7 separate regions of the Homo sapiens genome follow, and all the other regions are linked to region 2. Evidence: promoter capture Hi-C in 16 types of primary human blood cells and fetal thymus (Javierre and others, 2016). All regions are on one chromosome and are shown on one strand. Each heading gives the region's core, a stretch centred on a gene start or on the middle of the fragment in contact. The rest is flanking DNA. Distances are from core to core; before and after follow the strand shown. Region 1 overlaps LOC107986397 (a long non-coding RNA gene). Region 2 holds the start of SLC6A18 (solute carrier family 6 member 18). Region 3 overlaps TRIP13 (thyroid hormone receptor interactor 13). Region 4 has its middle 26 kb from the start of MIR4277. Region 5 has its middle 13 kb from the start of MIR4277. Region 6 has its middle 32 kb from the start of MIR4277. Region 7 has its middle 58 kb from the start of MIR4277.

Region 1 (3,284 bases), core at 778-3,277, 330 kb after region 2:
CCACTACTTAGAGCCCCCACGACTTGGAGACCCCAAGTCTTAGAGCTCCCACCACTAGAGCCCTCACCACTTAGAGCCGCCGTGACTTAGAGCCCCCCACTCCTTTGGATTTTGGGGAGTTGCCCCGCCAGCTCCCCGTCTTTGTGGCTCTGTAATCTGAGATGTCCGGATGGTCCTCTGATAGAAAAGCCCAGCCCTGCAGTTTCCTCTGCAGCCCATTGATGGGGGAAGTGGGGTCCTGCAAGGCTCTGGTGGGCCTGCAAGCTGGGCCTGCTGAGCCACAGGGGCTATTCTGATCACCTCCTTCCTCTCTACCCTATTGGTGAGGGGGACCCGCTGCCCTCAATGGCACCAGATGCCTGAGTGCCCAGCACCCAACCCTGGACAGCTGAGAGTGACAGCAGGCCACGGTCACAGGTGCTGATGTGCGGGTGGAAGGCGGCCCACTCCACTCGGGGACAGGGTGGGCTCTCAGGGGCTGCATGGCTTTGCAGTGGCCGCCCACAGGGTGAGGGGACCCTGGCTCTGTGGGGCTTGGGGCAGGGTGTTGGGAGAATCCTGTGGGCTGGCAGGGATCTGAAGCCCAGCGGGCTGAGGACCAGATGGGTGCTGCTGGTCCCGCTGGTGGAGGAACTGGCAGGGTGGGGAGCCTTTCCCCCTGGGGGACACATCCTATGAGGACAGCGGCTCCCAGGAGGCCTCCAGAGGCTGGGAGGCCTTTCAACGCGAGGATCTTACTGGCCACAGGTGCTGCTCAAACGAACGCTCCGAAAGTCTCAGCAGGTGAGAGCGCAAGTCTCAGTGCCGGAAACTGCTGTGCTGGGGGTGAGGAGGGGTGGACCCAAGGGCAGCCAAGGGCTTTGTGGGGGCACCTGGGGCCCAGGGCACAGGAAGAGCCATGCCCCACATCCAGTGCCCCCAGGTGTAACCCTGCTCCTCATGGCCCAAGAGGTTTTACGTGTGGATGGGTTTTAATTGGGTGTCTGGAAGCAGGTAAAGTTGTGTCTGAGCTTGGTAATGAGAGGCAGGGTAAAAGGGAGGGACATCTTGGAGGTGACATGCCTGATGCAAGGTCTTTACCAAACAGAAACTCCACAGGCCTGACCACACCTGACCAGGGCACAGGGCAGCCGAGGGCAAGGGACAGGTCCTGGTTTGGGGCCACTGCATGTCCTTGATCAAGGCATTGGGTGTTCAGCACCTCATCTTCCTTCTCTGCAAGGTGAGCGGCTTGGTCCCCCAAAACTCCAGTGCATTTATGAATTTTAACTGTTCTACAAGGCTACGGCCAACATGGGTGCCTCCGAGGCTCAGCCTGAAGGCAACATGTGGGGAGCCTGGTGGAAACCAGCCGTGTGGCCGAGGGCAGGCGCGTGCCGGGAAGTGCCCCTGTGCTGCGCTCATTAAGTTGTGATGGTGGCTTGTTAGCAGCTTGTTTTACTTCAAGATACTTCACTACATAAAGATTTTCAATTATGAGACAGATTGAATTGAAAACTGACTTTTCTAAAAACAAGGATTATTCCACATTGCAGAAATGATCCTCAGCTTCAAAGCTTTGTTTTTTAATGAGTGCACCCTTTAGGCATTTGGCACGTCTGGGATCCAAACCCTTGTGTTCATCCTGTGGACTCTGCAAAACGCACAGTGCCTCATGTCTCTTTCTGAACCTGGTCTGGTGTGAGCAGTGAGGAGGGAGTGTCTCAGGCTCCCATGGGGCTGAGGATGGGCTCCACGATGTCCCTCAGCCCACAGAGACAGAGACACACCCAGAACCTCCAAGCCACGGGTCTTGTCTGCAGCTGGGCCAGGTGGACTGCACCTGCCAAGGGAGCCTCCAGGGTGGGTGCTGGCTGGCCGGGCGCCCTCCTCACACACGAGGGCGGGCCAACTTGAGTGGAGCCGTGTCTGCATGCAATGCTGTCTCTGCCCCCAGCAGCTGAATGCCACCTGCTGAGCTAATATTTGCTGAACCATCGAGTCATGGATTCCTTCCTGACAACGTTGCTTAAGTGTTTATCCGAGCAAGAGCTTGGGTCAAGGTTGCCCTCGTCTCCCTGCCTCCCTCTGCAAACACCATTCAACTGCCAGCAGTGCCCTTGATGTCCCGTGTCCAGCTCCTCTGAGTGTGGTTTCCTGGCTCATAGTTGCCCAATGTACGGCATTCCTTGTGGTGAACCACAGGGCTGGCCCAGGATTCTTAGATGTCGGAGGAGGCGAAGATGCCACGTCCAGCAGAAAGAGCTGCACAGTGGCGGCCGCGCGTCAGAACGGCAGCTGTGGGGTGGCTGTGGAGCGGGGCGCCGGCGGTGGGTTGTTTACCACGAGCTCTACAACCAGTGGCTGTGTCTGTGTTTTTTCTCTTTAATGGAATGAAGCAAACGCAGGAGTGCCATGTCCCTGCAAGGACACAGTAGGGGTCTGGGTGATTTAGGGCCCTGGTGAATTCACACCCTCCAGGACATGAAGCCCTGTTTTCTGCACCATTTTACTGATGAGAAGCTTGAGGCTGAGAGAGGCCACTGGAGCAATCTGAGGGGAGGCCAGATCAATGCTGAGCCCTGCGGGCCTCACCTTGCAGGCCACAGCCTCCCTTATCATCTCTCCAACCCCAGCCGAGGCCCTAGGTCCACCCCATGTCCGGGTCATGATCCAGGAAGGGGTCAGTGCTGATCTAGAGCCTGGCGACAGAGCCCCTGGCCCGAGGCCTCCAGGAAGGAGTGTATCTCCAGCTTGCTGCCCATTGGCTGAGGACAGCGGGCTGGGGCATGAATCCCACGTGCGCGCAAGTGCCATTTTGCTCTGTGCTCCATGAACACAGGTGCCCCGAGCGCCTCCTGAGTGCCATGTGCAGAGTGGGCGGTGCCAGATGGGGCCCACCGTTGTCCACAGGGCTTGTGGAGGTGCTGCCGTGCCTCCCAGATGCCCTGTCTGGGCCTGTACCCCTTTGCCGAGTTGAGGAGGCTGTGTACCTCTTTGGGAGATGCCTGGGAGGTCACGAGCACAGACTGTGGGTGGCCCAGAGCCAATGACTGACAGTGGCGGGTGCCATGGCCACCCTGGCCTCCCCAGGGCCAGCAGTGGGGTGCGGGTCACTGGCTGACAGGGACCCCCTCCTGACGCCTGGTCCTGCCCTATCCTGCTCGCCTCGCCCCTTACCCTCAGGTTTCTCCTGCAGGAATCCCCATGGGAGTGCTGGCTGCTGAGGGACGGAGCTTCCCTCCTGGTGGGGCTACAGGGTGAGGAGGGCTTCGCATGGCGGCGGCGGCAGAGGGAACGGTGCT
Region 2 (3,079 bases), core at 281-2,780:
CAGCACCCCATCCAGCAGTGACTGCACACACTGAGTCCCCTACCAGCCCCTTTCACCCTGCTGACTGTCACTGGGCCCTGGGATGCGCAAGACTCCACAGCAGCAGAGGTGGGGGGACATATCACAGCCTCTGCCCCCGGCTGTGATGCCACCGAGGGGCTCGCCTGCTGATGGCTTCAACAGGGTCTCACCTCATCTTTTCCTGCTCTTTGGCCCTGGATCGAGAAAATTTCCATCAGTGCCCCATTAATATGCTGCCCTGTGGCATCTGCCCAGGAGGCCCTGCCAGGCGTGCACAGGTGTGCATTGGTGTACCCTGGCATGCACAGGTGTGCACTGATGTGCCCTGGCATCCATTGGTGTACCCTGGTGTGCCTGCCATAGGACCCTGGGCGGGAGCTCCCATCTCATCTACATCTCCTGATTCATGCGTTGTTTCATAGGTTTCAATGTCTCTGTAAATGTGGTAGAAATGCAGGCTTTATGGGCATAAAGTGTACATTTCTAAATAAATCCCTTCTATTGAGTATGCTCACCCTAGAAGTTACTGTTGTCCAGACGTAGAGGGATGAGTGAGCCAGTGACCTCAGACGGGATGGTGGGGACGGCAGGTCCAGCTCCTGCCTCCTCCTGGGGGGTCTGGCTTTGGGGGCTTGCTCCGAAGAGGCCATGGCCCAGGCCTGTGGCCTCACAATGGGGACCAACCAGCTCTTCTCATCTTCTTCCCTCACACTTCCTCTCACTCAAATAAGAACCTTCCAAAAATGTGTCCACCTGGGCCCCTGCCCTGGGACTCATGGATTTGGAGTTGTGGCCACACGGTTGAGGGGTGCAGTGTCCAGTGGAATGGGGCAATTGCGGGCCTGGGGGCCCTTGGCCTGTCCGTGGCGGGAGCATCTGCAAGGAGGAGCCCCAGAGTCCAGGGAGCACTGTGGGGAGCTCCTTAGAGCTGAACTCACCCGGCGTCAACTCATCAACCCTCCACCCATGGACAGGGGTGCCCCCAGCACAGGAGAGGACTCAGCCCTCTGCCCCCACGCACGGTGGGTGCCTGTCACCCTGTCCTGCCCAGCGGCCCGAGGGCAGCAGTGGGTGTGAGGGCAGCCCCCGGCCTCCCAAGAGCAGCTGAGAGGATCCCTGCGGGAATCCGGGCTTCGGGTGCATGCGATCTGATCTGAGTTGTTTCTGACAGTGACAGAGTGACAATCTATAAGTATCTCAAGATCAAATGGTTAAATAAAACATAAGAAATTTAAAACGATTAAAATATGCCTCAGTCTTGGGAATCCTGGTGTCTGCAACAAAAAAACTTGAGGCTGTCCTTGCAAACGGTCCTCATGGTGCTGGGGGTGGTGCCAGGCCCGGCGTTTGCCTGGAACACAGAGCATGCGAGAAGGAGCAGAGGACGTGGGTGCCAGGGAAGGACCCTGGCGTCAGAGCCAGGGCCTGGACCTGAGTTACCCATTAACGGCACTCCACTGGTTTTCCTTTAAAGAAATGAATAAATACAACTGCAGTGGGGCTGCTTGTGGTTTCCAAACGTCGGCAGAGGCTGGAGACGGCTCTCTAGTGCTGGGTGTGGAGTGAGGCACCACCCTTGCCCTGAAGCCTGGGGCACTCAGTCACCATGGCTCATGCCCCAGAACCGGACCCGGCCGCCTGCGACCTCGGGGATGAGAGGCCCAAGTGGGACAACAAGGCCCAGTACCTCCTGAGCTGCACTGGGTTTGCCGTGGGACTGGGGAACATTTGGCGGTTCCCATACCTGTGCCAGACCTATGGAGGAGGTAAGCACCCACCTGCGTCCTGGGGCAGACCCCTAAGCAGGGGAGGCCGTCTCCACCCTGACCTGCCAGGCGCCTGCCACGCATCCCCAGTGCTTGGGCAGAGTCACTCCTCCTGGAAACCAGGGTGCACCATTGCCCACGGCAGAGTCAGTCCCCTCAGGGCCCACCTGCAGTCTTCTGGGACCTCAGGGCAGCTTCACCACTGCCCACAGCACGGAGGATCCAGTCCCCTCGGGGTCCACTATGGTCTTCCGGGACCTCAGGGCAGCTTCCTGCCAGGCGTCAGGTTGAATGGGCCGCCCTGCCCGACACACACACCCTACAAACAGTGAGCGCTCTTCCATCTGAATGTCGTCAGTTCTTTAAAGAACACACAATCCGCTCTGGGTTTCCTCACCACAGCCTTGGTGTGTCCAGACATGTGCTCAGGTGCCCTTCTCCGAGGTTCTTTGCAGGAATTTGGGGGCCCACCCCTCGCCTCCCTGGCTTTGGTTCTCTGGGAGAGCCCTGTGGGGGGTGCCAGGATGTTCAGAACTGTCTGGGTGACTTTAGTGACCTTGGACTCACCACCCCCAGAAGTGCATTGGTGACTGAAATAGGCTCCCACGCACCTCGAGCCTCCCCTCACCCTGTGCCTGCTTCTCTTCATGCAGGGGTCACACTCTGCTCTCCATGTGGCGACACAGGATGTAGGGACAGGCATGAATCACTGCTCTCAGGGAGCCGACGTACAACATCACGCATGGACACCCAGGTCTTCCCCAGGCAACACGGGCAGGGGCTTCCCAGGCCGCAGGGTCCTCCTCAGGCCAGGCCGGGCTGCTTGGTCAGCCTGTTCCCCGGGCCCTCAGCTCCTTCCCTGAGAGCCCCGCACAACTATCCCTTGTTATAAGGTTACTCCTTTAAAGTGTTTTTCCTCCTGCTTAAGAAAAGATTCTCAACAGGCAGAAAATGCAGGAAATGCGCACAAATGGAAAAAACAAAAAGAAACACCCGTCACTGCCACCCTCGGGGCACTGGGGTCTCTTTGGGGCTTTGGGGCTGGAGAGGGTGCATTGGGCCTTGGATCTTCTCATCATGAGAGTCCCTTTGAAGGCATTTCTGAAAGCACCAAAGCCCAAGGGCAGAGGCGTCCCTGGCTCCCGGGGCCCTCGCTGCCTGTGCTGCGGCTCGATCTGCTAAGAGTCACCAGAGCATGCAAGGTTGTGGGGGCAGCAGGCTTCACGCAGAGCTGGAAATGCCGGCCAACGCTTTACCCACCAACGCCTTGTTCGCCAATGCCTTGCCCACCG
Region 3 (2,951 bases), core at 406-2,905, 320 kb before region 2:
CTTGGTATACGATGTGGAAGTCAAATCCCATGTAAGTTGCTGTGCCTTTTCCCAGAATGCCCTGTTATTTGAAGAGGAACCATTACTGTTTTGCTCTCCAACACCCCTGAGCAACTTGATGCAGATGGGTTTTTGGGAGCCCCTGTCTGCTGGCAGCCCTTGTCCTGGACATCTATCCTCTAGTATTGCTCCAGAGTAGAGCTGGTCTCTGAGGAGCTCCCTGAGGGAGAAGAGGGAAAGGGAGAACGTGAAGGCAACTTAGAGAATTAAACCCTCTGGAGATGGGAGGAGGGAAGGTGAGCAAGCCTGGTCCGCACAAAGGAAAGGCCGGTGTGTCTTAACCCCTGCACCCTCTTCAACGGGAAGGGTCTTTCCCATGCCAGCAGCTGGCTAGAAGACTATCACTCAGCTGTCCTCTGCATTGATAGTCTGAGACTATCACTCAGACTGCTCCTCTGCATTGTGGCTGTTGTTATTTTGCGAATAATAACTGCTGTATCATTCTAGGGAAGGAGCTTACTCATTACTTGATAAACAAACCCCTTAGTGGTTTTGTTTAATGTTGGCACTTTAAATAAAAGTGATCATTTTGTTGCTCTTCTTATATTTATAATAGTAATAGCCAGTGTTTTTCCTTTTCCCTTTTGGAAGCACCTTCTCTTCTGAAATGAAAGCGTTTGGAGGTGATGATCTCTTAGGAGGCGGCCTCGCTCCCTGTGCTCCCTCTTCTCATGTAGGATTAAGCCCTGGGGGAGGGCACATTTCTTGGGGACCTTTGCCTTGTTGGTATCTTTGTCAAGCTCTTTTCTTTTTCTCTATCAGCTCCTCGATTATGTGATGACAACTTTACTGTTTTCAGACAAGAACGTCAACAGCAACCTCATCACCTGGAACCGGGTGGTGCTGCTCCACGGTAAATTATGCAGGCTTTTATTTGACCAGATAAGTGGCATGAAATTTAGCCTTTACTTGTACCTTCGTCCTTCTGCAAGGAGTTACGGCTCTTTGTTTTCTGAAGGAGCCACAGCTGTCCTAGAATGTCCCCTCTCTGTGAAGCAGATCCAGCTCATGACACTTGGGACATTTTTTGTTTGTTTGTTTGTTTTTGTTTTTGAGACAGAGTCTCGCTGTCGACCAGGCTGGAGTGCAGTGGCCCGATCTCGGCTCACTGCAACCTCCACTTCCTGGGTTCCTCCCAGGTTCCAGCAACTCTCCTACCTCAGCCTCCCGAGTAGCTGGGATTACAGGCATGCGCCACCACACCCAGCTAAGTTTTGTATTTTTAGTAGAGACGGGGTTTCACCACGTTGACCAGGCTGGTCTCAAACTCCTGACCTCAGGTGATCCGCCCGCCTCAGCCTCCCAAAGTGCTGGGATTACAGGCTTGAGCCACCGCGCGCGGCCCCTGGGGCATTGATTACTCGGCACTTAATCAAGTCTTCCTGTGGGGGGCCACATTCCAAGACATCCTCAGATGCCCCAAACGTGGATAATACTAAACCTTATGTAGACTATTTTTTCCTACAGACATTCCTATGATAAAGCTTAACTTATAAATTAGGCTTGTAGTACTCAGAGCTTTACTTTGTGAGGAGTAAACTGAAAAAGCCATATTTTAAAGAAATTCTGTCTGGTTCTTCTCAGGAGAAAATACTGATGGTTTGTTGTTTGGTTTTGTTTTGTTTTGTTGTCAATATCACCGGGTAGAATGGGGACACGGGAATTGAGTGGACTCGAGAGTATGAAACTGTAGCCAAGTGTTAAATAGAAGCTTGAAGGGTACTTGGCTTCTTTAAGTCAGTTAAGATTGCGTGACAAAGTGACCTTAAAACACAATGTTCTTTTAAAGAGCAGACAGGCCCCGCATACTGCCCTCATAGCACAGTCAGAGTAAGCAGCAGGTGTTTTAATTAGTGAAATAAGTTGTTTCTGTTTGGAACCAGTTACGTATTTCCTCTTTAATTCTTGAAAATACCTGCAGAAAATTAGAGTTGTATGTCTCCATTTTCTGTTAGATGCTTTCCTTTTTCCATATTGGTCACCTCGCAGCTTCTGTGAGGCATCTTTTGTAGGGTCCAGCCCCACAGGGTTGGTGAGTTTTCTCCCCATGTGCAAAGACGAGAGAGTGTAGAAATAAAGACACAAGACAAAGAGATAAAAGACAGCTGGGCCTGGGGGACCACTACCACCAAGACGCGGAGACCGGTAGTGGCCCCGAATGCCAGGCTGCGCTGATATATATTGGATACAAGACAAAGGGGCAGGGTAAGGAGTGTGAGCCATCTCCACTGATAGGTAAGGTCACGTGGGTCACGTGTCCACTGGACAGGGGACCCTTCCCTGCCTGGCAGCTGAGGCAGAGAGAGAGAAGAGAAACAGAGAGACGGCTTACACCATTATTTCTGCATATCAGAGACTTTTAGTACTTTCACTAATTTGCTACTGCTAGCTAAAAGGCAGAGCCAGGTGTACAGGATGGAACATGAAGGCGGACTAGGAGCATGACCACTGAAGCACAGCATCACAGGGAGACAGGCCTCTGGATGACTGCGGGCGGGTCTGACTAATGTCAGGCCCTCCACAAGAGGTGGAGGGGTAGAGTCTTCTCTAAACTCCCCGGGGGAAAGGGAGACTCCCTTTCCCGGTCTGCTAAGTAGCAGGTGTTTTTCCTTGACACTGACGCTACCATTAGACCACGGTCAGCTTGGCAGCGGGCTTCTTCCCAGACGCTGGCATTACTGCTAGACCAAGGAGCCCTCTGGTGGCCCTGTCCAGGCATAACAGAAGGCTCGCACTCTTGTCTTCTAGTCACTTCTCACTATGTCCCCTCAGCTCCTATCTCTGTATGGCCTGGTTTTTCCTAGGTTATGATTGTAGAGCAAGGATTATTATAATATTGGAATAAAGAGTAATTGCTACAAATTAATGATTAATATTCATATATAATCATA
Region 4 (2,912 bases), core at 155-2,654, 510 kb after region 2:
GCCACCCTCTCCTTCCCACCTCCCAGGTCCCTGACCCCCACCCGCTTGCCCTCTCCTCCCTGACCCCCAGGGCCCTGGATCCCACCCTCTCGCCCTCACCTCCCTTACCCTCACTGCCGCCCTCTTAGCCATCTCCTCCCTGCCCTCAGGGGCCCCTCAGCAGCCTGCCCGGTCCGCCCAGCATAGCCACCATCCCTTCTGCTCAGGAAGTCTCACCCAAGGCACTCTCTGCAGAGGGCCCCTGCGCCCCTGGAGTGACCCCTCCCCACTCTCCACCACTTCCAAGCCTCAGGCATCACTGCTGGGGGAGCCTCAGGCTCTCCTGGGACTGAGCTCCCTCATCTTCCTCCTCCCACTAGGACCTGGTTGGGGAATTCCACAGATGTGCCCTCCATGAATGGGGCTTCCTGAGGACCAGGGTGTTACTGCAGAGGGTGTGGCGTGTGGGGTGGATTAGCAGGATTTGACCCTGTGTTGGGGGCATGGCTGAGACATGGAGCTCTCACCAAGCCATGCGTTCCTGAGAGATGATTTTTTTTTTTTTTTTTTTGAGATGGAGTCTTGCTCTGTTGCCAGGCTGGAGTGCAGTGGCGCGATCTCAGCTCACTGCAACCTCTGCCTCCTGGGTTCAAGCGATCCTCCTGCCTCAGCCTCCCGAGTAGCTCGGACTACAGGCACACACTGCCACACCTGGTTAATTTTTTGTATTTTAGTAGAGACAGGATTTCACCGTGTTGCTGAGGCTAGTCGTGAACTCCTGAGCTCAGGCGATCCGCCCACCTTGGCCTCCCAAAGTGCTGGAATTACAGGTGTGAGCCACCGTGCCTGGCCGAGACGATGCTCTTAACCATGGCTGGGAGGCCCTGCCGCCATCTGCTGTCCTGGCTGCGGGGCAGGCAGGGACCCCAGGAGTGTGGGCAAGAGAAGGGTGTGGGCTGGGGCTGGTGTGATGGGGTGGGGCCCAGGAGGTGCTGCCAGAGGGTTGGGGTGAGCCCTGTCATTAGCCAGGGACAGTCCCTCTGGGGTGGGGACTCGGGGGCGGGGGTTCCTGGAGGTTCATCATTCCCATAATCAGGAGGTGGCAGAGCCCTGGCTTTGGGGGTTTGTCCGGACCTGCTGGCCTCCTTCAACAGGCAAGAGACCTGTCTGGGGCCGGCTGGGCTGCCTGGCCCTCACCCGAAAGGGATACAGTCCTTGCAAGCCCCCATCTGCAAACCTGCAGCCAGAGGCTGGCCACAACGCCCTGTGGTTCTGGTGGGGGCGGGGGAAGGGAAAGGGCCCAGCTCTCAGGGTTCCCCGTCATGCCGTGCCAGGTCTTGCTGACTCAGGGACTGTGCTGGCCGTGGCATCAGGGAGAAAGGTTGCAGCCGGCAGGGATGAGTGAGGTGGGTGGATGGGGACCCTGCCCTGGGTGTCATGAGCACCTGCGTCCAGCGAAGCTCAGCAGACATGGGACCCGATCGGGATCCTCGGGCTGAAGCTCTAGCTGTGGGCTGGGCCCTCTCAGGCAAACCCGTTCAGACAACTGCAGTCTTAAACTCAATTTAATAGCAAAGGGAGGGAAATCCATCCCGGGGGAGGCTCAGCCCTGCAGCCCCAAGAGGCTGGCGATGTGATGTTTGCTGTGGGAGTGCAGATTCCCAGCCTGTGATTAACTCCAGAGGATGCGCCCGCATCCCGTCCTTGATAAGAGGATCCCACAGCCAGGGAGTCCTGCACAAAGACACCAGCAGGAAGGCACCGGCAGCTCTTAGAGATGGGGGGCCCAGGGAGGGACAGGAAGAAGCTGGTCCCATGCTGCCCACGTTGTGACGTTTACCAGGGCATCCTCCAGCCTAACAGCTCTAAGGTTTGGTTCACCATATAAGCAGCTGGCAGGCTGAGCACAACCTTCCTTAGCCCTGCACTCCTGTGTGTTTGGGCAGGTGGGCTCATAGGTGCCGGAGATGTTTCGGGCAGCATGCTGCGCGTTACACTCACCCTGGCACTGGGGAGTCGGAGCTGAGCCAGGCGGAGAGCATCCATACAGGGAGGCACAGAACAAGGCAGCAGCGCAGTGCCCGCCGTTCACTCCTGCCTAACAGATGTCCCCAGGGGCAGCACCTTCAGATGGCAGATGGCAGCCATGTCCTTAGCTCACAACTCTGTGGTCAGCAGCAGGGGTGCCTGGGCTCAACAGGGAGTTCTGCCCACCTCCCCATGACCATGTGACCATGTGGCTGTGGCTGAGTTCTCTGTGGGTTGGAACCTGGGCTGGAACAAGCAGCTGATGTGGCTGGTCCAAGGTCTCACCCCCAGGCAGTCTCATCCACTCATTCTGGTGGCTTCTGGGGAGGGCTCCAGGACAAGGGGCAGCAATTCCAAGGCCCCCTGAGGCCAGGCTCTGCCCTGACATGAAGTCCCTCCCAGGGTGCTCCATTGGTCAAAGCAAGGGCAAAACCAGCTGTGATGCAAGGATTGCTATGCAAAGATAAGTACATCCATGCAGCATTTAGGACATACTTAAAGCACTACATGATTTGTTGTTTATCTGAATTTCACATTTAAGCTGGAGTCCTGTCTTTTGTCATTGTTCTTGTCGGTGTGTTTCTGCTATGCCTGGCAACCCTATTCAAATCACGATTGATCAGAGACAAAGGCTTGGTGCATGGAGAGCTTTTCTCTGAGTCCTGGTCAGCCTTGCCATGGAATACTTACCCTGGGATGAGGCTGTGTAGAGGGGGATACACCAGGCTTCCTTGGGAACATATAGCTGACATCTTAAAACCACTTTTAAGAAGGTCAGGGTCCTGATAGACAACTCTGGAGCTGGTGGGTATGAAGGAGGGGTGAGCAGCCCTGCAGCCACCCGGCTTCCCCCAGTCTCCTTGTCATGAGCTGCGGTCAATGCACAGTTGGTCCCTGGGGCAGGA
Region 5 (3,091 bases), core at 455-2,954, 470 kb after region 2:
TAGCCCTTTGGAGATGTCATTTTCCTGTCTTCTGGCTTCCGTTATTTCTGCTGAGAAGTCCAGCAGTTGTTTGCATGTTGTTCTCCTGTGTATGATGTGTGCTTTTTCTTCAGCTGCTTTTAATGTTTCCTCTTACCTTTGACTTTCCTCATTTAGACCCTAATGTGCTTGGGATACTTTTCTTTCTGTCAATCCTGCTTTGGGTTCACTTGGGTTTCTTGATTCTTTTTTATTTATTTATTTATTTTTTTGAGATGGAGTCTCACTCTGTCGCCCAGGCTGGAGTGCAGTGGCGCAATCTCAGCTCACTGCAAGCTCCGCCTCCTGGGTTCATGCCATTCTTGGGCCTCAGTCTCCTGAGTAGCTGGGACTACGGGGGCCCGCCACCACGCCCAGCTAATTTTTTGTATTTTAAATAGACATGGGGTTTCACCGTGTTAGCCAGGATGGTCTCGATCTCCTGACCTTGTGATCCGCCCGCCTCGGCCTCCCAGAGTGCTGGGATTATAGGCGTGAGCCACCGCGCCCGGCCTCTTGATTCTTTAATCTCATGTCTTCTACTAAAGTGAGAAAATGTGTCCTCTACTTTTCAAAAATGTTTTTCTCCCCCATTTGTTCCTGTACACCTGTGACTCACATTTCACTATTAGACCCTTTGATGGTATCTCTCAGGTCTCTGAGACTGCATTGATGTCTTTCAGTTTTTTTCTTCTTCTCCCTAAGATTAGATGATTTCTGTTAATGTATCTTCCAAGTTTACTGGCTCCTGTATCATCCCTATTCTGCTGCTAAGTGTACATGTTGCATTTTCCATTTCAGATATTATATTTTTCAGTTATAGAATTTCATATAGTTCTTTTATATTTTATACATTTTAAGTAATTTATATTTGGTTCTCTTAATTTTTCTGATGACATTTACTATTTGTTCATTCATTTCAAATATTCATTCATTCTTTATGCCCTTGAGTGTTATTGTTATCATTTCTGCCTTAACATTCTTGTGTAGTAACTCCAACACCTGAGTTATCTTGGAGTTGGCCTCTGTCATTTGCCTTTACTCTTTTTTTTTCTTTGAGATGGAGTCTCACTCTGTGGCCCAGGCTGGACTGCAGTGGCGCAATCTCGGCTCACTGCAAGCTCCGCCTCCTGGGTTCACACCATTCTCCTGCCTCAGCCTCCCGAGTAGCTGGGACTACAGGCGCCCGCCACCACGCCCGGCTAATTTTTTGTATTTTTAGTAGAGACGGGGTTTCACTGTGTTAGCCAGGATGGTCTCAATCTCCTGACCTCGTGATCCGCCCGCCTCGGCCTCCCAAAGTGCTGGGATTACAGGCGTGAGCCACTGCGCCTGGCCCTGCCTTTACTCTTTATTGTGGGTCACATTTTTCTGGTTTTCCTTTTTTAGAAAAATATAATATCTACAAATTTTAGGGATTATAGCAGGATATTATTGTTAAACATTGTAAAAGCTTGATTCTTTTTGTTCTTTGGAATACTGTTGCTATTTTATCTGTTTTTAGAGGCAGTTAATTTGCCTGAATGTAAACTCCAAACACTTTCCTTATAATAATGGCAAACAGCTGAAATCTCTGCTTATTTCTTTCATTTTCAGTTTCTTTACATTTACTGTAATCACAGTTTCAGAGCTCAGCTGGAGATTTGGAAAGGTCTAACACACAGAACTCAGGTATCAATCTCTGTAGTTCTCTGTTTTTCAGAATTCATCCTGCCAAATTCCATCTGCTGAGGTCTCCACAATCTCTGTCCCTGATTCTTTGTGCCAGTAACACTATTTTCTATGAAAGTTTTATCTGTCTGGCATGGTGATGACTTTGACCTGACCCCAGTAAAGACTGAAAATTGGAAACTCACTCAGAACATCATCTTACAAATGTGGTGGGATTTTTTTTTCTTTACTTTTTAAAAACCAATATGGCAAGCTTGGTCATAATGAAGTTAGTCCTTTAAATTTACTTATATTCATAGTTGAATGGTCATTCTAAAATCTTATAATTTATTTTCTGTTTATTCCATGTGTCTTCTTTACTTTATTTATCCCCACTTTATTGGCACTATAGTTATATATTTTTTATTTCCCTATAGTTTATTATTTGCATAGTTGAAGTATAAAAACCTACCTTAGGCCAGGCACAGTGGCTGACGCCTGTAATTCCAGCACTTTGGGAGGCAAAGGCAGGAGGATTGCCTGAGCCCAGGAATTTGAGAGCAGCCTGGGCAACAAAGTAAGACCCTGTTCTCTACAAAAGATGTTAAGAAAAATAAGCCAAGCATAGTGGTGGGCACCTGTAGTCCCAGCTACTCAGACGACTGAGAAGGAGAATCACCTGAGCCTGGGAGGTTTTGGCTGCAGTGAGCCATGATTGTGCCACTGCACTGCAGCCTGGGTGACAGAGCGAGACCCTGTGGGGGGAAAAAAAACAAAAAACAAAACAAAACAAAACACCTACCTGAAACGAATACTTTTATCACTTCCCAAGCAGTTGAAGGATCTTATGAGTGGTCTGTCGTGCCCCCGCTCGCATTTCCTTTAATGCCATTGTAGTCATATATTTTACTTCTGTGTTCGTTGCAAACACCAGAAGATCACTTTAAACAATCCATACACTCACACTGCCCCTAACAGTTATCCTTTGTGGTGCTCTTCATTCCTTTCATCCTTTCCCCCATGAACATTTTCCTTGAGCTGAAAAATGTGGCTTTAGTATGCCTTGTAAGGCAAGTATGTTGCAGATAAATTTTCTCAACTTTTTAAATAACCACATCTTTATTCCACCTGCATGATTTAAAGCAGCAGTCCCCAACATTTTTTGGCACCAGAGATTACTTTTAATGGCAAAAACCGCAATTACTTTTGAACCAACCTAGTAATTATTACATTGTATTATATACTGAAATAATTATACAGCTCACTATCACGTATAATCAGTGGGAGCCCTGAGCTTGTTTTCCTGCAACTCGATGGTCCCATCTGGGAGTGATGGAGACAGTCACCCCCAAAGTGTGTTGCTTATGTCCGGTGTACTCTGTAATCTCGTTTTGGTTGCTGTCACTGCAGAAAACTCTGCTTC
Region 6 (2,973 bases), core at 233-2,732, 450 kb after region 2:
TGACAAAGAAATGTTGCTAAGGTGGGACAAGGAACAACTATCAGAGGTGGCACAGGGCTGGGACAAATTCAAGTTCTGACCAGGCAGGGTAGAAATACTTTGTTGAATGCCTAGGACTTTTAGTAAAGATCCCAGAAAAGGCATACCTTAGTATCAGGGCCAAACCAGATCTAGGGTGAAGGCTAATCTATCTCCAACTCTATAAAGCCTAAATCAACCTTCAAAGAAAGCACCTGGACCACGAGGAAATTCACTTCCTTCTGGGGGAAATGTCCTCAACGTGTACTAAAGGAAGGCAGTGAGATGCAGCCACTCAGCAGCGTAATAGTCACAATGCACATCACCCGATAAAAATTATTAGGCATGCAAAAGATCAGGGAAACTTGACCCAGTCCATGGAGAAAAAGATCCAGAAATGACAAAGATGATTAAAATAGCAGATAAGAAATTGAAAATAGCAGTTAGAAATAGGTCCAAGAGGCTGGGCGCGGTGCCTCATGCCTGTAATCCCAACACTTTGGGAGGCCGAGGTGGGCAATCACCTGAGGTTGGGAGTTCGAGACCAGCCTGACCAACATGGAGAAACCCTGTCTCTACTAAAAATACAAAATTACCCAGGCATGGTGGTGCATGCCTATAATCCCGGCTATTCAGGAGGCTGAGGCAGGAGGATCACTTAAACCTGGGAGGCAGAGGTTGTGGTGAGCCGAGATTGTGCCATTGCACTCCAGCCTGGACAACAAGAGCGAAACTCTGTCTCAAAAATAAAATAGAAGTAGATCCAAGAACTTAAGGAAAATTGCACATAATGAACAGGAAAAAAACTATATGAAGAAATAGTATTACAGAGATGAAAAACAAAATACTATTTCTTTACAATAAGTATAAATAATACTAATATAAATATAAAGAAATAATATTACAGAGGTGAAAAACAAATACAGATGCCACTTCATTGTAAGTTGAAAATATTGTAAATAAAAAATGCAGTAAATACACCTAACCACCAAATATAATAGCTTAGCCTAGCCTACCTTAAATGTGTTCAGAGCACTTACATTAGCCTAAAATCATCTAGCACAAAGCCTAGTTTATAATAAAGTCTTGAATATCTCATGTAATTTATTGAATACTGTACTAAAAGCCAAAAAAGAGAAGGGTTGCTTAAGCACTCAAAGTCCGGTTTCTACTGATTATATACCATTTTTACACCATCGTAATGTTCAAAAATCAAGTTAAACCACCATGAGTTAGAGACCTTCTATATGAAATAAAAAGTTACCTAATGGGCTTAAGAGCAGACTAGAAACTGCAGAAGAAACATGAACTTGAAGACTGATCAATAGAAATCATCCAAACAGAAGGAACAAAACTTTTTTAAAAGGCTGAAAAAAGATCAGATTTTCTTTGGCTTGTGGGCTAATATCAAGAGGCCTAACGTGTGTAGTGAGAATACAAGAAAAAGGGAGAGAGCAGAAAATATTTGAAGAAATAATGCCTGAAATTTCTCTGGATTTGGAGAAGATATATACCCATGGATAAAGAAACTCAAAGAACAAAGAAAATCACACCAAGGCCCATTTTAATCAAATTACTGACAATGAATTATAAAAATAATAATCTTAGAGGTAGTCCAGGGTAGGCAAACATATTACATACAGAATAACAAAGACAGAAATAATGACTGACTTCCCATCAAAAACAATGTAAGACAGAAGACAATGGAATTCCAACCTGAAATGCTGATTTAAAAAAATGTTTTTAATTGATGCATGATATTAATACCTGTTTATGGGGCATGTGCTATTTTGATGCATGCATAGAATATGTAATGATCAAGTCAGGGTTCAGAATATCCATCACGTCAAACATTTATCATTTCTTTGAATTGGGAACATTTTAAATCTTCTCTTCTAGCTATTTTGAAAAATGCAACATATTGTGTTAACTATAGTCACCCCACTGTGCTATCAGACACTAGAACTTATTTCTTCTGACTGTGTGTTTTTGTGCTCATTAACCTCCCACTCTTCATTCACCCTGCCAATCTTTCCCAGCCTTGGTGACTATCATTCCGCTGTCAATCTCCATGAGAGCCACTGTTTCAGCTCCCACATATGGGTGAGAACATGTAATATTCCTTTCTGTCTGGCTTATTTCACTAAACACAGTGACCTCCAGTTCTATCCATGTTGCCATGAATGGCAGGATTTCATTTTTTATGGTGGAATAGTATTCCATTGTGTGTATATACCACCTTTTCTTTATCCATTCATCTGCTAATAGATACTTGGTGTAATTCCATATCTTTGCTATTGTGAATAGTGTTGCTGCTGCAGTAAACATAGGGGTGCAGATATCCCTTTCATATACTGATTTTCTTTCCTTTGGATAAATACCCAGTAGTAGGGTGGCTGCACTAATTTACATTCTTATCAACAGTGTGTGAGTTCCCTTTTCTCAACATCCTCACCAGCATTTGCTATCTTTTGTCTTTTTTTTTTTTCTTTTTTGAGACAGGGTCTCACTCTGTTGCCCAGGCTGAAATGCAGTGGCATGATCTTGGCTCACTGCAACCTCCACCTCCCGGATTCAAGCGATTCTCTTGCTTCAGCCTCCTGAGTAGCTGGGATTACAGGAGTGTGTCACCAAGCCCAGCTAATTTTTGTATTTTTAGTAAAGACAGTGTTTCACCATGTTGGTCAGGCTGGTCTCAAACTACTGACCTCATGTGATCTGCTCACCTCAGCCTCCCAAAGTGCTGGGATTACAGGCATGAGCCACCATGCGCAGTCATCTTTTGTCTTTTTGATAATAACCATTCTAACGGGGATACAATGATATCTCATGGTGGTTTTGGTGTGCATTTCCCTGATGATTAGTGATGTTGAGAATTTTTTCACATACCCATTGGCCATTTGTGTGTTTTCCTTTGAGAAATGTCTATTCAGATACTTTGTCCACTTTTAAACA
Region 7 (3,094 bases), core at 388-2,887, 430 kb after region 2:
GGGCACTGAAAGAGTGGCTCTCACAGAGGCAGAGAGTTGGCTGGTGGTTCCCAGAGGCTGGGCAGGGTGTGTGGGTGAGAGGCAGACAGAAAGTGAGGCTGGTTACGGGGCACAAACATGCAGTCAGGGGAAGGAGTAAGTTCCAATGTTCCATAGAACAGTTCACAGACCAAAGGCAACAATCATTTACTGTTTCCTTCCTTCCTTTCTTCCTTCCTTCCTTCCTTCCCTTCCTCCCTCCCTTCTTTCTTTCTCTCTCTCTCTTTCTCTCTTTCTTTTCCTTCTTTCTCTTTCTTTCTCTCTTTCTCTCTCTCTCTCTCTTTCTTTTTCTTTCTCTCTCTCTCTCTTTCTCTCTTTCTTACTTTCTTTATTTCTTTTTGACAGAGTCTCACTCCAGGCTGGAGTGCAGTGGAGGCATGATCTCGGCTCACTGCAACCTCCGCCTCCTGGGTTCAAACGATTCTCCTGTCAGCCTCCCGAGTAGCTGGGATTACAGGTGTGTGCCACCATGCCTGGCTAATTTTTGTGTTTTCAGTAGAGACAGGGTTTTGCCATGTTGGCCAGGCTGGTCTCGAACTCCTGACCTCAGGTGATCCACCTGCCTTGGCCTCCTAAAGCGCTGGGATTACAGGTGTGAGCCACTGCACCTGGTCCGCTGTATATTTCAAAATAGCTAGAAGAACTGGAATCTTCCCAACAGAAAGAAAGAGTAGATGTTCCAAGTGATGGATATACTACATACCCTGATTTGATCACTACATGCTGTGTGCACAATCAAAATATCACAACTGCCCTGTAAATATGTACAATTATTATGTATCAATAAACACTTTTCAAAAAATTTTAGATTTGATTACAAAGACATTAAACCCTGTGACACTTCAAAAAACACCATAACAAAACAAACAAAATCCAACAAAAACCGGAAGCACGCTGTGACGGTTTTGACATCTGATGTCCTCAGTGTCTAGAGGTCTTACGGGAAGAAGGAAGGCGCAATCGAATGAAGTTAGATGTGGAAATAGAATCACAACAACCCAGGAAGATGCAATTTGAGTTTTAACGATGAATTTAGCAATTTGCTTAAAAATAGTAATAGTCAATGTTGGCAAATATTCAGAGGAATATGCGTTTTCAGATACTAGTAGCAAAAGTATCAGCATAATTTTGTTCTGGAGAGGGGTTTGGTAATATGCACCAGAAGCCTTCCAATGTGGCTGACCTAGCAATGCTGCCTTTAGGGTGATAAACTGGCAAGTGGTCAAAATCCGCTCTGTGGCCTGTTGCTGCACGGCCAAGAGCTCGGAATGGTCCGTTACTGTGAAAACGATTAGCGAATAAGGAAGAGTGTGCGGTGGAGACCATCTTCCCCGTCCCCGCCCCCAGCACAATACTGACTCTCTAGCTGTCTGCAGAGCACGTTTGCAGACCCCTGATCTATGTGGAGGAGTAAACAAGTAAACAACAAAACGGTCCAGGTGTTCATTTTGCAGCATTTAGAAAATGTTGGTAAAAATAAAATAAAGAAATAAAGGGCCTAAATGTCCGTCTTTCCAACCTCATGGAAGTAGTTCAATCGATTCTGGCAAATGCAAATCCTGTCGTGTTCGGCAGCCGCTACAGGTAGACAGTGCTGCTGAAGAACTTCCAGTAACATGAGAAAACACTCATGAGAGGGTCGTGCTAAGTGAGAGCATTAAGTTATACAGACGACTTTATTCCAATTTTAATTTGAAGGTGTGTAAATAGAAAGAAATGGAAAGAAAGAAAATACTTGAACATCTTAATTACTGGGTGTTCATCCCGGGTGTGGGGAAGCAGGGGCTTCGGGTGAGGGTGGTGGGGGGTATGAGGAGTTTGGAGGTGGGTGGGAGGGGATCCCTAAAGTGACAGAGTCCTGGGAGCCCAGGGCTTGGAAGCTCACCACCTGGCAGTGCAGCCATGGGATCCAGACAGCTTCGCTGGACAGACGCACCGTGAGGGCTGGGGTGGGTCCTGGGGAGGGCAGGGCCAGAAAAGGGTGGGGCTGGGGAGAGTGGGGTCAGGGGAGGGCGGGGCTGGGGAGGGATGAGGCCTGGGGAGGGGTGAGGCCTGGGGAGGGTAGGGCCTGGGAAGAGTGGGGGATGGGGAGGGGTGAGGCCTGGGGAGGGTAGGGCCTGGGAAGAGTGGGGGATGGGGAGGGGTGAGGCCTGGGGAAGGTGGGGCTGGAAGAAGGTAGGGCTGGGGAGGGGTGGGGCTGGGGGAGGGATGAGGCCTGGGGAGGGGTGAGGCCTGGGGAAGGTGGGGCTGGGGAGGGGGGGGCCACAGAGGGCAGGGCAGGGGTAGGGCAAGGCTGGGGAGGGATGATGCCTGGGGAGGGGTGGCCTGGAGATGTCAGGGCTGGGGAGGGTAAGGCTGGGGAGGGATGAGGTCTGGGGAGGGGTGGGGCTGGGGGAGGACCGGCCTGTGGGGCAGGGCCTATGGGGGCATGGGGCCTGGGTCCTCGGGGCCTGGGACAGTGTCACTCTTCCCTTCCTTGGCTCATCCTGTGACCCGAAGAGCCTCTGCCAGGCCCTGGGCTCCTGCTGAGCTCCTGCTGAGAACAAGGCAGCCTGGTTTTTCTTTGATCTCCTGCCCCGAAGGTTGATGAGGGGATGGAGGGTCTGGAGCAATGGCCCAGACAGGGTGGAAGTTCCCTGGGGAAGAAGGGGGTGCCTGGAGTGGGTGGGTGGTCAGGGACCTTTCGAGAGGAGGGGTCTCAAGGTGAGGGCTCCTCAGGCCCCCGAATGTGGGGCAGGGTGGGTGCACAAGCAGAGGCTGTGGGGGAGGTGCTGGGCAAGGGAAGGGCAGGGCCCATTCTTAGGAGGAGCCTGAGAGTGGGACAAGAACAGATAAATTCTCAGGGAGAATGGGGTCCCTCGCCATGGGGGGTCCTGGAACAATCCATGGCGGCCTGTCCCTCTGCCTGCTCCCACCACAGTTCCGTGCTTCTCCAGAGGGCCAGGCTGGCCATGCTGTCCCTAACCCACTCCAGGGACCACATGAGTGTAACAGGATGTAGGAGAGAGCCAGGGCTTGGAAATCCATGATCTGGCCGTGTGGCCATGGGATCTGG

Evidence for each region. The method cuts DNA at HindIII sites, captures the fragments that hold promoters and counts their contacts. A CHiCAGO score of 5 or more calls a contact.
Region 1: a contact is called between a fragment that was not itself captured here and the fragment with the promoter of SLC6A18 in region 2, in 1 of 17 cell types (total CD8 T cells). The highest score is 5.3, in total CD8 T cells.
Region 3: a contact is called between a fragment that was not itself captured here and the fragment with the promoter of SLC6A18 in region 2, in 2 of 17 cell types (M1 macrophages and erythroblasts). The highest score is 5.6, in M1 macrophages.
Region 4: a contact is called between a fragment that was not itself captured here and the fragment with the promoter of SLC6A18 in region 2, in 1 of 17 cell types (monocytes). The highest score is 5.9, in monocytes.
Region 5: a contact is called between a fragment that was not itself captured here and the fragment with the promoter of SLC6A18 in region 2, in 1 of 17 cell types (monocytes). The highest score is 6.7, in monocytes.
Region 6: a contact is called between a fragment that was not itself captured here and the fragment with the promoter of SLC6A18 in region 2, in 2 of 17 cell types (monocytes and naive B cells). The highest score is 7.7, in monocytes.
Region 7: a fragment that was not itself captured here is called in contact with the fragment with the promoter of SLC6A18 in region 2 in 14 of 17 cell types (M1 macrophages, M0 macrophages, non-activated CD4 T cells and 11 more); the score reaches 9.5 in M1 macrophages.

The regions. Positions count from the first base shown.
Region 1 is chr5:1,553,468-1,556,751 of GRCh38, forward strand. It overlaps LOC107986397 (a long non-coding RNA gene), which reads left to right. Exons shown (of 2, transcript XR_007059102.1): 2 at 1-2,488. Among named protein-coding and RNA genes, the nearest start is that of LPCAT1, 31 kb to the left of the region's middle. The HindIII fragment of the contact is 946 bases long and covers 1,555-2,500 here.
Region 2 is chr5:1,223,851-1,226,929 of GRCh38, forward strand. It overlaps SLC6A18 (solute carrier family 6 member 18), which reads left to right and starts at 1,531. Exons shown (of 12, transcript NM_182632.3): 1 at 1,531-1,787. The coding sequence starts at 1,628. It overlaps SLC6A19 (solute carrier family 6 member 19), which reads left to right. Exons shown (of 12, transcript NM_001003841.3): 12 at 1-1,261. RefSeq lists an enhancer at 1,925-2,467. The HindIII fragment of the contact is 4,471 bases long and covers 1-3,079 here.
Region 3 is chr5:900,519-903,469 of GRCh38, forward strand. TRIP13 (thyroid hormone receptor interactor 13) reads left to right here. Exons shown (of 13, transcript NM_004237.4): 4 at 1-31; 5 at 823-913. Among named protein-coding and RNA genes, the nearest start is that of TRIP13, 9.1 kb to the left of the region's middle. RefSeq lists a silencer at 2,576-2,870. The HindIII fragment of the contact is 227 bases long and covers 1,543-1,769 here.
Region 4 is chr5:1,733,417-1,736,328 of GRCh38, forward strand. No RefSeq gene overlaps it. Among named protein-coding and RNA genes, the nearest start is that of MIR4277, 26 kb to the left of the region's middle. The HindIII fragment of the contact is 7,363 bases long and covers 1-2,912 here.
Region 5 is chr5:1,694,260-1,697,350 of GRCh38, forward strand. No RefSeq gene overlaps it. Among named protein-coding and RNA genes, the nearest start is that of MIR4277, 13 kb to the right of the region's middle. The HindIII fragment of the contact is 471 bases long and covers 1,470-1,940 here.
Region 6 is chr5:1,675,109-1,678,081 of GRCh38, forward strand. No RefSeq gene overlaps it. Among named protein-coding and RNA genes, the nearest start is that of MIR4277, 32 kb to the right of the region's middle. The HindIII fragment of the contact is 3,271 bases long and covers 1-2,973 here.
Region 7 is chr5:1,649,493-1,652,586 of GRCh38, forward strand. No RefSeq gene overlaps it. Among named protein-coding and RNA genes, the nearest start is that of MIR4277, 58 kb to the right of the region's middle. The HindIII fragment of the contact is 4,657 bases long and covers 1-3,094 here.